Linked DNA regions of Homo sapiens: regions 2 and 3 are each linked to region 1. Evidence: promoter capture Hi-C in 16 types of primary human blood cells and fetal thymus (Javierre and others, 2016). All regions are on one chromosome and are shown on one strand. The core of a region is centred on a gene start or on the middle of the fragment in contact, and the rest is flanking DNA. Distances in the headings are between cores, read along the strand shown.

Region 1 (3,108 bases), core at 312-2,811:
TCCTCACACTCCCTAGGAGACTGTGTGCGTGTGTGCCCGCGCGTGCGCTCACAGTGTCAAGTGCTAGCATCCGAGATCTGCAGAAACAAATGTCTGAATTCGAAATGTATGGGTGTGAGAAATTCAGCTCGGGGAAGAGATTAGGGACTGGGGGAGACAGGTGGCTGCCTGTACTATAAGGAACCGCCAACGCCAGCATCTGTAGTCCAAGCAGGGCTGCTCTGTAAAGGCTTAGCAATTTTTTCTGTAGGCTTGCTGCACACGGTCTCTGGCTTTTCCCATCTGTAAAATGGGTGAATGCATCCGTACCTCAGCTACCTCCGTGAGGTGCTTCTCCAGTTCGGGCTTAATTCCTCATCGTCAAGAGTTTTCAGGTTTCAGAGCCAGCCTGCAATCGGTAAAACATGTCCCAACGCGGTCGCGAGTGGTTCCATCTCGCTGTCTGGCCCACAGCGTGGAGAAGCCTTGCCCAGGCCTGAAACTTCTCTTTGCAGTTCCAGAAAGCAGGCGACTGGGACGGAAGGCTCTTTGCTAACCTTTTACAGCGGAGCCCTGCTTGGACTACAGATGCCAGCGTTGCCCCTGCCCCAAGGCGTGTGGTGATCACAAAGACGACACTGAAAATACTTACTATCATCCGGCTCCCCTGCTAATAAATGGAGGGGTGTTTAACTACAGGCACGACCCTGCCCTTGTGCTAGCGCGGTTACCGTGCGGAAATAACTCGTCCCTGTACCCACACCATCCTCAACCTAAAGGAGAGTTGTGAATTCTTTCAAAACACTCTTCTGGAGTCCGTCCCCTCCCTCCTTGCCCGCCCTCTACCCCTCAAGTCCCTGCCCCCAGCTGGGGGCGCTACCGGCTGCCGTCGGAGCTGCAGCCACGGCCATCTCCTAGACGCGCGAGTAGAGCACCAAGATAGTGGGGACTTTGTGCCTGGGCATCGTTTACATTTGGGGCGCCAAATGCCCACGTGTTGATGAAACCAGTGAGATGGGAACAGGCGGCGGGAAACCAGACAGAGGAAGAGCTAGGGAGGAGACCCCAGCCCCGGATCCTGGGTCGCCAGGGTTTTCCGCGCGCATCCCAAAAGGTGCGGCTGCGTGGGGCATCAGGTTAGTTTGTTAGACTCTGCAGAGTCTCCAAACCATCCCATCCCCCAACCTGACTCTGTGGTGGCCGTATTTTTTACAGAAATTTGACCACGTTCCCTTTCTCCCTTGGTCCCAAGCGCGCTCAGCCCTCCCTCCATCCCCCTTGAGCCGCCCTTCTCCTCCCCCTCGCCTCCTCGGGTCCCTCCTCCAGTCCCTCCCCAAGAATCTCCCGGCCACGGGCGCCCATTGGTTGTGCGCAGGGAGGAGGCGTGTGCCCGGCCTGGCGAGTTTCATTGAGCGGAATTAGCCCGGATGACATCAGCTTCCCAGCCCCCCGGCGGGCCCAGCTCATTGGCGAGGCAGCCCCTCCAGGACACGCACATTGTTCCCCGCCCCCGCCCCCGCCACCGCTGCCGCCGTCGCCGCTGCCACCGGGCTATAAAAACCGGCCGAGCCCCTAAAGGTGCGGATGCTTATTATAGATCGACGCGACACCAGCGCCCGGTGCCAGGTTCTCCCCTGAGGCTTTTCGGAGCGAGCTCCTCAAATCGCATCCAGAGTAAGTGTCCCCGCCCCACAGCAGCCGCAGCCTAGATCCCAGGGACAGACTCTCCTCAACTCGGCTGTGACCCAGAATGCTCCGATACAGGGGGTCTGGATCCCTACTCTGCGGGCCATTTCTCCAGAGCGACTTTGCTCTTCTGTCCTCCCCACACTCACCGCTGCATCTCCCTCACCAAAAGCGAGAAGTCGGAGCGACAACAGCTCTTTCTGCCCAAGCCCCAGTCAGCTGGTGAGCTCCCCGTGGTCTCCAGATGCAGCACATGGACTCTGGGCCCCGCGCCGGCTCTGGGTGCATGTGCGTGTGCGTGTGTTTGCTGCGTGGTGTCGATGGAGATAAGGTGGATCCGTTTGAGGAACCAAATCATTAGTTCTCTATCTAGATCTCCATTCTCCCCAAAGAAAGGCCCTCACTTCCCACTCGTTTATTCCAGCCCGGGGGCTCAGTTTTCCCACACCTAACTGAAAGCCCGAAGCCTCTAGAATGCCACCCGCACCCCGAGGGTCACCAACGCTCCCTGAAATAACCTGTTGCATGAGAGCAGAGGGGAGATAGAGAGAGCTTAATTATAGGTACCCGCGTGCAGCTAAAAGGAGGGCCAGAGATAGTAGCGAGGGGGACGAGGAGCCACGGGCCACCTGTGCCGGGACCCCGCGCTGTGGTACTGCGGTGCAGGCGGGAGCAGCTTTTCTGTCTCTCACTGACTCACTCTCTCTCTCTCTCCCTCTCTCTCTCTCTCATTCTCTCTCTTTTCTCCTCCTCTCCTGGAAGTTTTCGGGTCCGAGGGAAGGAGGACCCTGCGAAAGCTGCGACGACTATCTTCCCCTGGGGCCATGGACTCGGACGCCAGCCTGGTGTCCAGCCGCCCGTCGTCGCCAGAGCCCGATGACCTTTTTCTGCCGGCCCGGAGTAAGGGCAGCAGCGGCAGCGCCTTCACTGGGGGCACCGTGTCCTCGTCCACCCCGAGTGACTGCCCGCCGGAGCTGAGCGCCGAGCTGCGCGGCGCTATGGGCTCTGCGGGCGCGCATCCTGGGGACAAGCTAGGAGGCAGTGGCTTCAAGTCATCCTCGTCCAGCACCTCGTCGTCTACGTCGTCGGCGGCTGCGTCGTCCACCAAGAAGGACAAGAAGCAAATGACAGAGCCGGAGCTGCAGCAGCTGCGTCTCAAGATCAACAGCCGCGAGCGCAAGCGCATGCACGACCTCAACATCGCCATGGATGGCCTCCGCGAGGTCATGCCGTACGCACACGGCCCTTCGGTGCGCAAGCTTTCCAAGATCGCCACGCTGCTGCTGGCGCGCAACTACATCCTCATGCTCACCAACTCGCTGGAGGAGATGAAGCGACTGGTGAGCGAGATCTACGGGGGCCACCACGCTGGCTTCCACCCGTCGGCCTGCGGCGGCCTGGCGCACTCCGCGCCCCTGCCCGCCGCCACCGCGCACCCGGCAG
Region 2 (3,108 bases), core at 191-2,690, 190 kb before region 1:
ATGGCAAAATGCTAAAACCATTTTTTCCGTTATTAAAGACAATATTGGTCACCATGGAAACTATTTTTTTAATACTGTTCTAGGAGTACTGGCCAGTGCAATTAGATAAGAGGAAAAAAAGCTGTAAATATGGGGAAAATTATTTGCAGATTACATCATTATATATCTCTAAAATCCATATAAATCAATTGAAAAGCTGTTAGAAATAATATGACTAAGTACCTGGTTATAAAGTTAGTTATACAAAAATTAATAGGCTTTTTCTGTACATAAATATAATGGGATGAATTGATCAATTTCAAGTCTGATTGGCTGGATGATTTTTTTTTCCTCTGCAAACCAGACCTTCTCTGCCTCTGAGCAGTGGTCTGTAACAGGATGAATTTCTGTTGGATCAGCTGAAGTGGTGGCTTGGGCAGTGAGGCAATTCTTCATCAAGACATACCTTTTTGTTGCTTCTAATTACCTGCTGGCAGGAACTAAAAGTGTGTCTCTTGTATGCATGCCATGTGTGTAAAATTAGAGTCTTTGAAATTGTTCAAATAAAGAGGATTAGTTATAGTTGTAGGGAGATATAAAGACTAAGCCAAAAGAAGCAGAGTTTATCTGCCTTCACACTTCACCCATCTGTTAACCCGGCTGAGACACATTTTCTTGTAGCATTAGTATTTTATGCACTGTTTTTCTTGATATAGTAACAGATTTAATTCATTCTTTATGGTAATAGATCCCTTGTATCCATAAAGAAAGAACATATTCCATCATTACCTTAATATCATGTCTAATACAGAGTGGCCGTACAATTGGAAAGTTATTTCTCAGACCACTAAACTTACACATAAATGTTAAACACTGTATATTACTTTTAAGCTTACTTTTGATCTGCTATCAAACCTAAGAAGTTGTTTTATTTTGATTAACTCTATATAATAGTTAATTTTTTTCCTCTAAAATGTGTTTTAAAGGCTGAAGCTGTATTTGACATCATTTTTAAAGCTATGTGATTTATTCTTTTTTATTCTCCACTGTCAAATATACATATTTGAAGATATGTATGGTAATACCATTTTCAAGCACTAGCTAGTTTAAGGAGCATAGAGCATGGTAAGTGATATAAAACTTCATTCACCCATAAACCCCAAACCCCTAGTACTGAATGCCCACATATATCATCCTTACTATCAGAGAAATTATGTTTATAACATATGCTGAGTTCAAGACCAGCCTGGGCAACATGGCAAAATCCCACCTCTATGAAAAAATATGAAAATCAGCCAGGTGTGGTGGCGCACCTGTAGTCCCAGCTACCTGGGGGGCTGAGATGGGAGGATAACCTGAGCCCTGGCAGGTCAAGGCTGCAGTGAGCCATGATTGTGCCACTGCATTCCAGCCTGGGTGACAGAGTGAGACCCTGTCTCAAAAAAAAACAAAAGAGAAAAGCATTCAGCTTTTTGCTTCCTACATGTATGTCACCACATAAACAAAGGAAAGTGAGACTCAAGTTACCGTAAAAGAGTCCTTCACTGGAAGCAAATCCTCAACTGTTTTAGAAAAATGAGTTTATGATCATTATTATTTTGCTAAAAGGATTCTTTATTTCATCACAGGAACCTTCTACTAACCCCCTTTAGTCTAAAAAAGCTCTAATCTATAAAAATTAAAAATATATAGATCAATTTGATCCTTATAGTTTATCCATCCAATAATTTTTTGGTTAATATTTGCATGGCAGATAAATCTTTACTTCCCTTATTTCTACCTCCTGTATTGAGTGCTCAATCAACTTTTAAATAAATTATCACATGTATATATACATAATAAGATTACTTAACATTCCTATGTTGAATTTTGAATTTGTTTCATTTGTTCATTCATTCTTACATCCAACAGATATGGATTGCAAACCTACTACATGGCAAGCATAAGTGCCCCGGGGTTATGGCAGTGAACAAAATTCTTATCCTCATACAGTTTATCTTCTGATTTGGTGGATATGAGAAACTGGTGAACTTAAGCTTAAAATCAATCAGATGCTGAGTTTGTTATTAAAAAACAGAAAAGAGAGCTCAGGTTAAATACATGCACTAGCTAATCTAAATCTTTCTTGGAAGTAGACTTGGTACTAGTCTCTCAATTATCAATCATTTGGGCATTCTGTGATGATTTTATTATATCCTTAATTGCATTGCAGAAATGGAAAAAAAATTATCTCTTCCAATTGCCGTTCCCATCTGATGAGTCCTTCATGGGAGCAACAAGCAGCTGATTTGCCATCAGCTTTGTACCAGTGTAGGGGCTATTTTGGCAACAACATATGCTTTGGTGTCAGAGTAACTGACCTTCGAATCTTAGCTCTTACTATGATATTGGGCTAGTTACTTGATTTCTCTGAGCCCATTCTTCCATCTGTTAAACAGGCATATTAATCCTGCTTTAAAGGAGTATAATTCAGATTAATGAAATAATCGGTGTATAGTACCTGGCAGGTCAGAGCTCCCCTACCCAAGGTCCCCATTTAGTGGCAGAGCCAGGATTAGATCCCACATCACCTCACTCTGGTGCCAGTCCTTGTCTCGTACCATGTTTACATTTAATAATCTCTGGTGATTTTACTCACATGACGAGACAATAGATTTATTCATCATTTATTAAGAAGACATTGAGTTCTTTGCTGTGCTGCCTCTTTGACCTCTCTGGGCCAAAAATGAGGGAGTTGTATGAGGCTCCAGGGTCTCTTTTAACCATGCACTTCTATGACTCTATGCAGGGTGGCCAACTGTCTTGATTTGCCTCAGACTCAGGGGTTTCCCTGAACAGGGACTTTCAGTACTAAAACTGGGAGAGTCAGAGAAAACTAGGATGGTTGTTCACCATAACTCCAGGATTCTTCCACATTTGGTTTATTCCATCAGCTTCCCTGATATACCTCTGAATACCCGAGATTGGACATAATCCTGCAAAAGAATTCAAACATCAAGTTAGCGAACAGAGCTGCAGCCATGTGGCCTCTCCACCTCTTCATTCACTCCTTCTTCTGCCTCTGCAGTTTCCTATCTGGGTGCTGCTTTGGGAAACTGTTTTTAATCATTCATTGCTATGGTTTTAGTT
Region 3 (3,108 bases), core at 305-2,804, 170 kb after region 1:
AATTAAGTGCTGTTCATACCAATTATGTTTCTTCTTTCAGATGTATGGAAAGGGAAAATAAATTATCCATTAAATTGCAGATATATGTAAAGATGCTTTTTGTAGTAAAAGCCAAAACAACTTGAATCTGACCTGTGATTAGAAATAACAGACATTTGAAATTCAGTAACTTAATTCATTGACAATATCACCAGGTTAGTTATCAATGATTCATTCAGTTTTCTTTTAAGCATTATTAATTGCTTGATACCATTTAGGATCAGGAAACCCTTAGTGCAGTGAAAATTGTAAAAGTTTATGACCTGGGAGGCCCGTGTCTAGCCATGCCTCTGTCAGGAATCTGTGGTGTGACTTCTGACAAGAGTTTTATCCCTCTGGATCTGTTTCCTTGGCTGGAAAGTGAGGAAATCGATCCAAAGATTACCTCGCAGATTCTCTCCAACTCTGACATTCTATCATTTCACACTCACTTTAAAATAGACTGTCGGCGACCCTACGCCAGTTTTCCTTGAGAAACAGCGCCACCTTCAGGTCATAATAACCATAAGAGAGCTGACCGTGAAGGTGCTTCTCCGGCAGGAGCGATTTGCCCTGATCCACAGAAACCCTTCCCCCGCAGTCCTCTGGGATGCGGTCACACACTTGTGAGTCTGCCGCTGGGTTAAGATCAATGCGTATGGACATGGAGCCAAGCTGAGCTAACTGGCCCACAAGGGACAGATGCATGACCTTGGCCTAATTATCACAGCTCCAGCTAACAGTTCGCCCACAGCAAAGCTCCTTGTGGAACCCTATAAAGAAGGAAAGGAAGCGAGGGATATGCTGGATGAACTAAACTCTACAAAACAATGAAAATGGACACACCTCTTCTTCAGGCAATTCCACTTAAGATAGTTTCCAGCTGTTCTTATTTTAGCAAGATATCTACTTGGATATACTTTCATTAAGAAAAATGACATAGTGAACTCTGAAGTAAATATCAGATTTTTTTCACCCAGCAAATATTTATTGAGCAACCAACCACTTGAATGCCAGCACCGTGCTAAAAGCTCTCACAAAATTACTTTTATTGAATTTCCACAACAGCCCTTGTGAGAGAGGAATTCATATCTTCATTTTTCAACACAAGGAAGTTGAGAATGAGAGAGGCCCAGAAACAGCAGATCTGGCAACAAGCTTGAATATGCAGACACAAACATTCCACACAGTCCTCCTCTGAGGACACGACGCAACTGCTCCTTTTCAAGAGCTTATCACTTGGCACAGTGTGGCACCAACTGCAATCAGCAGTGCAGAGGCAAAGGCCGCTAGGGAACTCAGTTTATTTCTCTGCAGTGTGATCTGTATGCAGAAAATGGCCCTATCTTTGCCAGCCATCCTCTGCCATACCTCCCTAACCCACTGATGGATGCTGGGCAGGATAAGGGGGATAAGTTAATTTGTTCCTAAGTGTCTAAACAAGGATCCTTCTTAGAAACAGTGGATATTTAAGGTTGTCCCTTTGATCACATCCCAACAATCCCTAAATTCCATAGGCTTTCTTGGTTGGGAAAGAGGCAGAGCAACTGCTACCCATGGGAATGCATCATATTTGGAAATATAATGTTTCCTGTGCATTACAGAGGAGAGAAGTGGGAAGCATCGCCCGGTGCTGGAGGTACTCCAGCTACAGGTGGTACCCTCTATATCTTACTCTTTCCCGTACCTACATATGTGTAGTCAACTCCAGTTGATGAGATCAGGTTTTCAATTCTTTGTACCCCCCCACTGCACTTTGCAAAATACTGGCACATAAATTTAAAGTTACTAAATATTTGCTGGTGTGTTAGGAAAAACACATAGTCTGCATGCAGAAAACAGGAATTATACAAACTAGCATGATCAGACATATTTAAGATGTCAGCTGAGTTACTCTAGGGCAGAGCCCAAGGATGAAGCTTGGCTGAGGGAGGATAGGGGAAGTGCCTTGGGACCTTTAGATTATGGGTGGAAGGAACAAAAGACCCACATGGAACAAGACACTAGAGTTGGATTGACCCTTTGGGGAAGGAGAAGTTACGATATGACATCTAAACCGCAAGGAAGATGCCAGAAAAAGAAAGAATAATATATTGTGTAAGCAAGCAATTTCTTAATTTTAAACGTGTTTTTATATTCAGGTGAAATTGTTTTATTCAAGGTTGAATGACTACTAAGTTGCAGCTAATCAGAAGTTGAGAAAGAAATGCTTGGCAGTTGGAATCCAGTTTTTGCACATAATCAGAACCAGTACTGTCAGTTTCATGGCGTCTCAAAAGCTAAGACTGAGAAGGAAAAAGGGAACAGAGCCGGCCTTGTCACACCACAGACGGGAGCAGAAGTGCAGAACTGTCCCCATGGCATGTGTTCAAAAGAGTATCGTGTAGCAAACCCTAACCACAGCAGCAGTGGCTGAGCTAATCCTGGCTGGATCCCAGTAAGGCCCTTCTCGAGTCCCAGCAATGACGATGGTAGATTAGCAATCTCTTCTCAATGTGTCAATATCATCTATGTTTCTACCCTGCTAGCCTCCTCTTTTCCTTCTTTCTACCCCACCCTCAATTAACCATGCCTCCTCTTACAATTTCTAGTCTGCAAGAGACTAGGACAATAGAGAATCAAAAACTAGGGTAGAAACACAGAGGCTGCTGTGGTTAGCGCTTGCTGCGTGATAGATAGGTTTGGTTTTGTAGCAATAACACAAGGCGGAAAGTGATAGAAAATTCAACATTCTAACTGCAATTCACCAAATCTTATCTCCAGACTTGCGGTGTTTATAGTTTCAGCAACACAACCTGACTGCCAGGAGGAGAGTGAGGATAATAGCATGAATCCGACTGACAAGGAATATGTCTTGGAGAGCCGTGAACCATACCAGGAAGAGATTTTTTGCTTATAAGAGCATATTTGTTTGTGGGCTCTTTCCAGGAGCAATAGACTAAGTTGAAGATGTTTTATAAAAAGATAGTTTTATAGAACAGATATTAGGAAACTATTTTTTTATGATGACACACGGATCTTCAGCCTTGAGACTGTATCTTCCAGCCTGGTTGATCCTTCTGCACTGGTTGGTACACAGTCACTTCCCTG

The links. Contacts are between HindIII fragments. The CHiCAGO score rates a contact against its expected background, and 5 or more counts as called.
Region 2: a contact is called between a fragment that was not itself captured here and the fragment with the promoter of OLIG2 in region 1, in 3 of 17 cell types (M2 macrophages, M1 macrophages and naive CD4 T cells). The highest score is 6.3, in M2 macrophages.
Region 3: a contact is called between a fragment that was not itself captured here and the fragment with the promoter of OLIG2 in region 1, in 2 of 17 cell types (M0 macrophages and M1 macrophages). The highest score is 7.0, in M0 macrophages.

What each region holds. Positions count from the first base shown.
Region 1 is chr21:33,024,374-33,027,481 of GRCh38, forward strand. OLIG2 (oligodendrocyte transcription factor 2) reads left to right here and starts at 1,562. Exons shown (of 2, transcript NM_005806.4): 1 at 1,562-1,653; 2 at 2,428-3,108. The coding sequence starts at 2,490. RefSeq lists an enhancer at 1,391-2,293. The HindIII fragment of the contact is 3,945 bases long and covers 1-2,922 here.
Region 2 is chr21:32,836,883-32,839,990 of GRCh38, forward strand. No RefSeq gene overlaps it. Among named protein-coding and RNA genes, the nearest start is that of EPCIP, 25 kb to the left of the region's middle. The HindIII fragment of the contact is 1,145 bases long and covers 869-2,013 here.
Region 3 is chr21:33,196,529-33,199,636 of GRCh38, forward strand. No RefSeq gene overlaps it. Among named protein-coding and RNA genes, the nearest start is that of LINC01548, 28 kb to the left of the region's middle. The HindIII fragment of the contact is 761 bases long and covers 1,175-1,935 here.